Regions from separate parts of the Homo sapiens genome. Here region 1 is linked to region 2. Evidence: promoter capture Hi-C in 16 types of primary human blood cells and fetal thymus (Javierre and others, 2016). All regions are on one chromosome and are shown on one strand. Each heading gives the region's core, a stretch centred on a gene start or on the middle of the fragment in contact. The rest is flanking DNA. Distances are from core to core; before and after follow the strand shown. Region 1 overlaps LINC03033 (long intergenic non-protein coding RNA 3033). Region 2 holds the start of LINC03033 (long intergenic non-protein coding RNA 3033).

Region 1 (4,075 bases), core at 58-2,557, 42 kb after region 2:
CCTCAGCCTCCCAAGTAGCTGGGACTACAGGGGTGCATCACCACGCCCAGCTAATTTTTGTATTTTTTTGGTAGAGACAGGGTTTCACTGTGTTGGCCAGGCTGGTCTCAAACTCCTGGCTTCAAGTGATCCGTGCTGGTCTCGAACTCCTGGCCTCAAGCAATCCCCCCACCTGAGCCTCCCAAAGTGCCGGGATTACAGGCGTGAGCCACTGCACCCAGTCTGATTGCATTCTTATTTCCACTGTAGCTCTAGCAAACATCTAGCTTTTATGTTAGGTTCTATAACTTGGAGCTAGCTTTTCAAAATCTCTAGACTGGGGCTTCCCCATATTTCTATTGGGATAATGACTTCATCATGGGAAGATCAAGTTTGTGTAAAGCACTGTATTATAGTGCCTGGCACATACTGCAGCACCTGGGCAATTTTTCCCTCACTTAGTCTTCAGTAAGCACCTACTCAGGACCCAGGACCATTTGAGGCACTGGAAAGCTACTCATATTTTTAGTGTATTTGCTGTGTCTTCCTTCTGCTGTTTTGCTAAGAGATGATTAGATGGTCTTTCTAAATACCAAGATGAATAGCCACAGGCACTAACTTCTTCAGCCTATCTCCTATCTGCTCTTCCCTCCCACCCCCTCCACACACACACACTTACTCACACGCTCACAAACACATGCCCAACCTAATTCAGGGACTCACATACAGCTTAGGAAAGGCAGCTTCATCATCAGTCCCACCAAACATCTCCTGCTTCTGCAAAGCTGCTTCTACCATTCTGACATGTGTAAGTCTATTCATTGTATTGTATGTCCTCATAGCAGCATATATGTTTCCTTTACTGTGCTTACAATTAGGTAATTATACATGTAATCACTATGCAATTACTGCTGACTTTCCCCCAGTCTCTGTCAGGACCGTCCATACTGTCTCTCTCACTTTTGTACCCATAGCACTTGGTATAATGCCTGGTACTCAAAATACATTCTTTGAATAATTGGAAAACAGCTCTTGAAACCCCACACCATTTATGGGATCTTCTGGGATTTAGGCATCTCATATTCCCACCATTATGCAAACTGTCTCTACTCCAAACTCTAAAAATGTCATAAGATTTGCCCCTTACTGTTTCAAGACAGTAAACATACACTGCATGTGGTTAATAAATTTAATTCAGATATCAATTTGAGGTCCATAGGGATGGCCTAGATAAGTGGGCAACCCAACTAGATTACTGTTTTGACGCTTCATTCAACAGACATTTGTTTAAATATTTTTTAAAATTTTTCTTAGAGGCGAGGCAAAGGGCTTCATGGGGATAAACTGACCATTGTAGTAGAGGTTTGCCTCTCCTTGGTTGTCCCTTGCAGTTCAGCTCTGGTCCCAAACTGGAACAGTCCAACGAAGAAAAAGCTCCTATAGTTAATTGGATTCACCACTTTTAGAGGGGAGTTTAGAAACCCTTTTTTTTTTTTTTAGATAGAGTCTTACTTTGTTGCCCAGGCTGGAGTGTAGTGGCACAATCTCGGCTCACTACAACCTCCACCTCCTGGGTTCAAGCAATTCTCCTGCCTCAGCCTCCCAAGTGACTGGGATTACAGGAGTATGCCACCACACCCGGCTAATTTTTGTATTTTTAGCACAGACAGGGTTTCACCATGTTGGTCAGGCTGGTCTCGAACTCCTGACCTCTGGTGATCCGCCCGCCTTGGCCTCCCAGAGTGCTGGGAATACAGGCATGAGCCACCACACCCAGTCAGAAACTTTTTTTTTTTTTTAAGTATTCTCTTTGGAAGTCTTGTTGCCCCAGCCCAAGGAATTTGCTAAATTATCCTTATAATCACAAACAGTACTCTCTCTGAGAGGGCTCCTGTTGAACTCAGTTTTCTCTATCTTCTTATATTTTCAGAGATGTTTCAAGACCCATTTTAGACTGATACCTCATTACATCCCCATCTGGCTCACTCTTTAATTTGGCTCTGGGTTCCCTATACCAACTGTTTGGGGTTTATAATAAAGAATGTACATGTTAATTAAATATGTTCATGCCACTTCCAGAAGTCTCAATCCTGGAAAGAAAAAAAATGCAAAATAAGAAAAAACATCTCTATGCTTTAAGACGTTTTTTGCAGTATCTTGACGGAGAGCAGTGAGAACTTATTGAATCATTAAGTGTTCTGCCAGATAATATATTAAAAAAAGATTTACTGCAAAGAATTGGCTTATGTGATTGTGGGAGATGGCTAGGTAAGCCCAAAATTCATAGAGCAGATCATCAGGAAGGACAGGCTGGAAGCTCAGGTTAGATCTGAGGCTATAGTCAAAGGCAGAATTTCTTCTCCTTCAAGTAAACCTCAGTTCTGCTCTTAAGGCCTTTCAACTGATTAGATCAAACCCACCCATATTATCAAGGATAATCTCTTTTACATAAAGTTAACTGATTGTAGGCATTAATCACAACTATAAAATACCTTCACAGCAACATCTAGATTAGTGTTTGATTGAACAACTGGGTGCTATTTAGGCTAACCAAATTAGTGCATAAAACTGTTATTTTTCCTGTTTTAAAAGCAATTATAGGAAAGTAGACAGAATTTTAAAAATACCTATAATTCTATCACTTAAGACAATTTGCTGTGTTTTAATTTGTGCCTTCCAGGGTTTTTTTTTTTCCCCTAGCAATTTATTTATAACAGCAGGAAAAATGGAAATAAACAAAATGTTTAGCAATGGAGAAATAGTTATGGGAATTATGGTATATGCACATGAGGTGAAATTATGCAGCCTTTAAAACTTATAATTATGAAAACTGGATCAACCTGAAAAAATGCTTCAAGTGAAAAAAGTACAGTACAAAATCCTATCTCTAATAGTTATGATTATAGCTATGTAAAAACAGCATATCGTGGGACCATGCAATAGAAGGAAACATTAAAAATAGCGCAGCATCAGTGCCCCCCACCACATCTCCAGCACTTATCGTTGTTTGTGCCCTGAGTTAACAGCTCAGGCTGCTGCCAGCCCCCATGACCCTGCCTGAGGGCTTTCTCTGTCCTCTATGGCCCATTCTGCCCAAGCATGGACAAAATAAAATGGCCGGAGAATGCCTCTTCCCCTGGGAGCAACCCTCACCCAATGACGGATGGGAATTTCTGGGTATATACCTGGCCCCTTAGGTAAGGTGTCCTGGAGGTGGGTGTTTCATCCTGGTTCCATGAACCCCAGCGAGACTGGACTCCAGCTGCCTGCAGTGGCAACCTGCTCAACTTCCTCTATCTTGGCTTCCTTTCTGTCCCTGTCTCACTTTCCCACTCCCCTTCCAGCATTTTCTTCATAAACTATTTGCCTTGTCTTGGTTTGGTTCTGGGCCACATAATCTCCACAGAGGTGATATAGCCGCCAAGGGGCTGAAGTTGGTTACATAGGGCAGGGGTTCCCAACCCTCAGGCCAAGGAGCAGTACAGTCCGTGGCCTGTTAGGGACTGGGCCGCACAGCTGGAGGTGAGCGGCAGGCGAGCAAGCATTACCTCCTGAGCTCCGCCCTGTCAGATCCACAGCGGCATTCGATTCTCATAGGAGGGCGAAACCTACTGTGAATCGCGCATGAGAGGGATTTAGGTTGCACGCTCCTTATAAGAATCTAACTGATGCCTGATGATCTGATGTAGACAGTTTCATGCCGAAACCATCCCCCCATGGTCTATGGAAAAATTGTCTTCCATGAAACCACTCCCTGGTGCTAAAAAGATTGGGGACCGCTTACATAGGCGACAAAACAATATTGCTCTTTTAATGTATAAAGCACAGATATGCATACATTATACAAATTCACAGTATATCTGAGGGATTAAAAATTCACGGGGGGTCCATTTAGGAAAAAATATCTACCAAGGGTCCTTAGGAGGGGAAATAATGCTTTTTTAAAAAACTGTTGAAAAACACCGTGAACCCGAAGGAACCCAAAGTAAGACAAATACAAGCAGTTTCTCTGTTAGGATGACTGATCAAATAGGAACTTCGACCTCTAGTTTTTTACCTCAGTTATTTGGTATGTACAAGTATAATAAAATAATAA
Region 2 (4,054 bases), core at 162-2,661:
ATTGACTGCAGCTCGGCTTCTGCTCTGTAAAATGGGGCTGTTGCTAGCTGAGCCTCTTCTGCCTCTGGTAGAAAATGATTCCAAGTGGCTGCCCTGTCCACCCTAATCCCATGGCCCGAACTTGATGTCTGCTGCTTCTAGAAGCCTAGTGCTCCAAATATCTGCTCTGGGAGGGACTTGCAGATGATCCTGATTGGAAATGAGGCTGATTAACCTTTTGTGTATCATTGACTCTAGGACAATCTGTTGAAACCTAGGGGCTCTTACCCTAGACAAATTAACACACCAGCCAGATACAGCTTACAAGGGCAGAGAGTTGCTGGTTTGAACCACAGACCCCTGGTTTAACATCTGTAATCTAGTCAACCCCTCCTCTTTCTTGAAGGCTGAACCAAACACGAAGGGTTTTCCCCACCTTCCAATCCTCATACATGCAGACACCCCCTTTTCCTGCTTTCTCCTTCAGTCATCTTCCTCACCATCCCCCATGCTTGGGCACTCTCAGGAGGGAAATTGTCCTATAAATATCTGTAAAAGGCATGGTATGTCCTGTAGCAGAGAAAGCAAAAAATAAAAATATAATTCCTCCACCCCTGGCATGGCACGTGCAGAGCTCTGCCTGATCCTTCTCTCCCACAAGCCTCGGGGGTGGGTAAACAAAAGTGAGAGGTGAAGCTGCTGCAGCGAAGTACCCCTTCAAAATCTTCAGTACCCTTCAGAGCCAGCGCTGTCATCACTATCACATAAACTGTACAACTCCAACGTCAACCAGCAGCCGCCTGGCTGGCAGCAGGAAGAGCCAATGCAATTTTGCACAGTGGCTTGCTTGCCCAAGGTATTGCCTGGCAAATGGGCTTCTTGTGCAATGGGGAACCACAGGGAGGGGCCTCTTAAATGTACCTCAAAGAAACAGCTCTAACAATGGATGATTCAACAGGCTAGTAATTGGCGCTCACTCTTACCACATTGTTTTGATAAAACGACATAGCCCAACTGGGGATATGAAGGCAGTAAGTAGAAAAGCTAACCTCTTGCTACTCAAATTGTGGCTGAGAACCAGCGACATCCCATCACCAGAAGCTTTATAGAAAAGCCAGGCTCTGTCCCAGACCTATTGAAAGGAGATCTGCATTTTAACATGATTGCGAGAGGATCCACATCTTAAAGTTTCAGAGGCCTAATCCAAAGTCTTCTGATAATGATCATTAGAGTCCCAGCCACCCCCGACTTCCCCCTGGGAAAACCACAACAAATAGAACAAATTCCTCCAAGCTCTGCTCATAAGAAGAACCCACAACCCACAGACACCCCCTCACTCAACTAGAGACCTCACCCACCTGTTTGCAGAGTCACCCACCTTGGGCTACTTCTTTTCTACTATTTAATCTTCTGGGAAAACAGAGGTCTTCTATTTGGAGATAAAAATGACAAAGGAGAACCTCCTGAACAGCATCCAGTTTGCTTTTAGCTTTAGCCATCTCTCTGACCTCAGTGCTGCTGGACTCAGTTCCAAGATCTAACTGTCAAATGCTTTAGGGGAAACGGGAAGAGAAGTCCCTGGAGTAACCCATGTGCGCAGCCTGGCACTGTTTTCACTTGCCTTTGGAAATGAAGGTGCAGAAACCATGGGAGGTAAGGAGGGCACAGACTAGTGACTTCCAGTGTGGGACAGAGGGGAAAAGATGGAAGAGAAGTGCAGAAAACCACTCGGGAAAAGACAGGCTGGAGTGATGCCTGCTGAGACAGGGCCCTGATCTCCCAGGACTTCCCTTTCTGCCTGTTCTGTAGAAATGTCTCGGGTTTTGTGGTTTAGGAAAAGAGATGCTTAGCAAGCTTGTAGAAAATGTAATGTGGGCACTTTGTTGCTGTCCTGGCTTTTAAAGGACTCTGAAGCAGATCAGCTTCAAGGTATTGGCTATTCTGTTTGCAGCCTTAGAAAGACATCCTTGATGTTTTATTGTTCTGCCTTTGCTAAGAGCTGGAAACTCTCCCTGGGGAAATGGCTCACCTTGAAAGAGATGCTATCGTAGCTGAAAATGTTTTAGCTTCACTTCCAATCTCTGGTTCCTTGTGGGAAGTAACTGCTGCTGTGGTATATATGCCCTGTGCCTTTTATTTTTACCATCTTTACCTCGGTGGACACAGCTGGTTGAAACTCAGTAAAACTTATGCTTCCATGGAGATTGATTCAGACAACAGGAAAAATAAGTGTAGAAAAAAACTGCACAGTACAAGGGCTAGATTCAGGTTGTAGAACAAAGTGATTATTACTTAGAATCCTGGATTAGCAAGAGAATAAGAAAGATGCTGAGATTACCTAGTGTTATCACCATCCACGTGAAACGTAGAATAAAACTTTTTCCCCACCACATAGATATTGGGCAGTTTATTATAGATGCTACAAAGGGATTTATTATATTTTTCCCAAAATGGTTAATTAGAGGCATCCCAAATTACAACTCCTTTAGCATAACTCCCAGCTCCATGCAGCCTACTTACTAAGGACCCAGCTACTGACAGCTCAGCTCTTTGCCAATCCAACTTTTTTTCCCCATATGCTCAAACTTTTCTTCTCCAAGAAGACTTCCTGAATGATCCCAATTCATAGGGATCTCATCCTTAATGCAGGGGAAATTCACTGTTCTGGAGTAGTCTACCATACCATCACGCTCTTCTTTTTGTGTAATCCTGGATTTCTTCTCCAGTTGTTTTATTCTTGCCTGTCTACACAGATAGATCAGTAGCCTTCAATAGTCTGCATCTCCTGTTATCTTGCAGCCTCCTACTATAAACAGTAGGTGCTTTACTTATGCCAGTTGGGTTGACCTAGACAGTAGTCTCTAAGTAGCAGTCCTTGGCTCATCCTTCTGAAACCAACGAGCTCTTAGGCAGGCTGAGAAAGGGTTAGGACTGTTCACTCTGGGACATCCTTGGCTCTGTATGAGTGTTGTTTTTAAAAGCAGGGATTTTGTCTCCAGTGCATTGAAGAGATAAAACCCCATTGTCAGCATATTTCTTCAGGATCTTTCTGTGTTAGATCTCACTGCCAAGCCAGAGTCCCCACACACAGACTCTCACTTTTCCCCCATCAATAGGCTGAAGTGAGGCAAGTAGTAGAATGTGCTCAAATCATGGCCTATTCTTAATAAAAGAAACAAGGACAGCTTGGGGCTGGCTCGTCTCTTCTCAAATTCTCCTAGTGTTCTGAACCAAATGTATGAAACGAATAGATTTGTTTTATTCGCAGGTATTAATGCTTCTCCGAAAGCAGTTGTTTGGGTGGCTGGAATATCAGTAGTCATTGACCAATAAGGCTTGCAGGTGTGAATCAGAGCAGTATTCTGGACTTCCAGAGTAGAGCTGCCATCTACTACTCTACATCACCTTCATCCTTACAGAATCACTGAGACCATTCATTCATTCACAAGCAGTTGTGTCTGCTACATGCCAGGCACTTGTAGTAGGCATTAGAGATACAATGGCAAGTGAAACAGACACTGCATGTAATCTACTGAGAGAGACTGGGAATTAATTCAATAAGTAAAAGTAAGTATATAATTATCAATTGTGATAAAGGCCCTGAAGCAAAAGAATAGGATGTTCTACAAGAATATTACAAGAGCTTTATCTGATCTAACGTGTATGGGGAGGGGAAGCCTCAGGGAACGCTTCTTAGGGGAAGTGACATTTGAGCTGAGCGTTGAAAGAAGAATAAAAATTAAAAAGTACAGAGGGGGCCAGGTGCAGTGGCTCACACCTGTAATCTTAGCACTTTGGGAGGCCGAGGCAGATGGATCACTTGAGGTCAAGAGTTCGAAACCATCCTGGCCAACATGGTGAAACATCATGTCTACTAAAAATACAGAAAAATTAGCTGGGTGTGGTGGCAGGGTGCCTGTAATCCCAGCTACTTGGGAGGCTGAGGCAGGAGAACTGCTTGAACCCAGGAGGCGGAGGTTTCGGTGAGCCAAGATCGCACCACTGCACTCCAGCCTAGGCGACAGAGTGAGACTCTGTCTCAAAAAAAAAAAAAAAAAAAAGTGAAGAGGGGTTA

What was found. Contacts are between HindIII fragments. The CHiCAGO score rates a contact against its expected background, and 5 or more counts as called.
Region 1: a fragment that was not itself captured here is called in contact with the fragment with the promoter of LINC03033 in region 2 in 11 of 17 cell types (neutrophils, activated CD4 T cells, naive B cells and 8 more); the score reaches 16.9 in neutrophils.

What each region holds. Positions count from the first base shown.
Region 1 is chr14:61,611,409-61,615,483 of GRCh38, forward strand. All of the region lies in intron 1 of LINC03033 (long intergenic non-protein coding RNA 3033), which reads left to right. Among named protein-coding and RNA genes, the nearest start is that of LINC01303, 43 kb to the left of the region's middle. The HindIII fragment of the contact is 7,886 bases long and covers 1-4,075 here.
Region 2 is chr14:61,569,129-61,573,182 of GRCh38, forward strand. LINC03033 (long intergenic non-protein coding RNA 3033) reads left to right here and starts at 1,412. Exons shown (of 3, transcript NR_039985.1): 1 at 1,412-1,632. LINC01303 (long intergenic non-protein coding RNA 1303) reads right to left here and starts at 1,525. Exons shown (of 5, transcript NR_110416.1): 1 at 1,358-1,525; 2 at 416-549. RefSeq lists an enhancer at 1-118 and a silencer at 510-702. The HindIII fragment of the contact is 753 bases long and covers 1,079-1,831 here.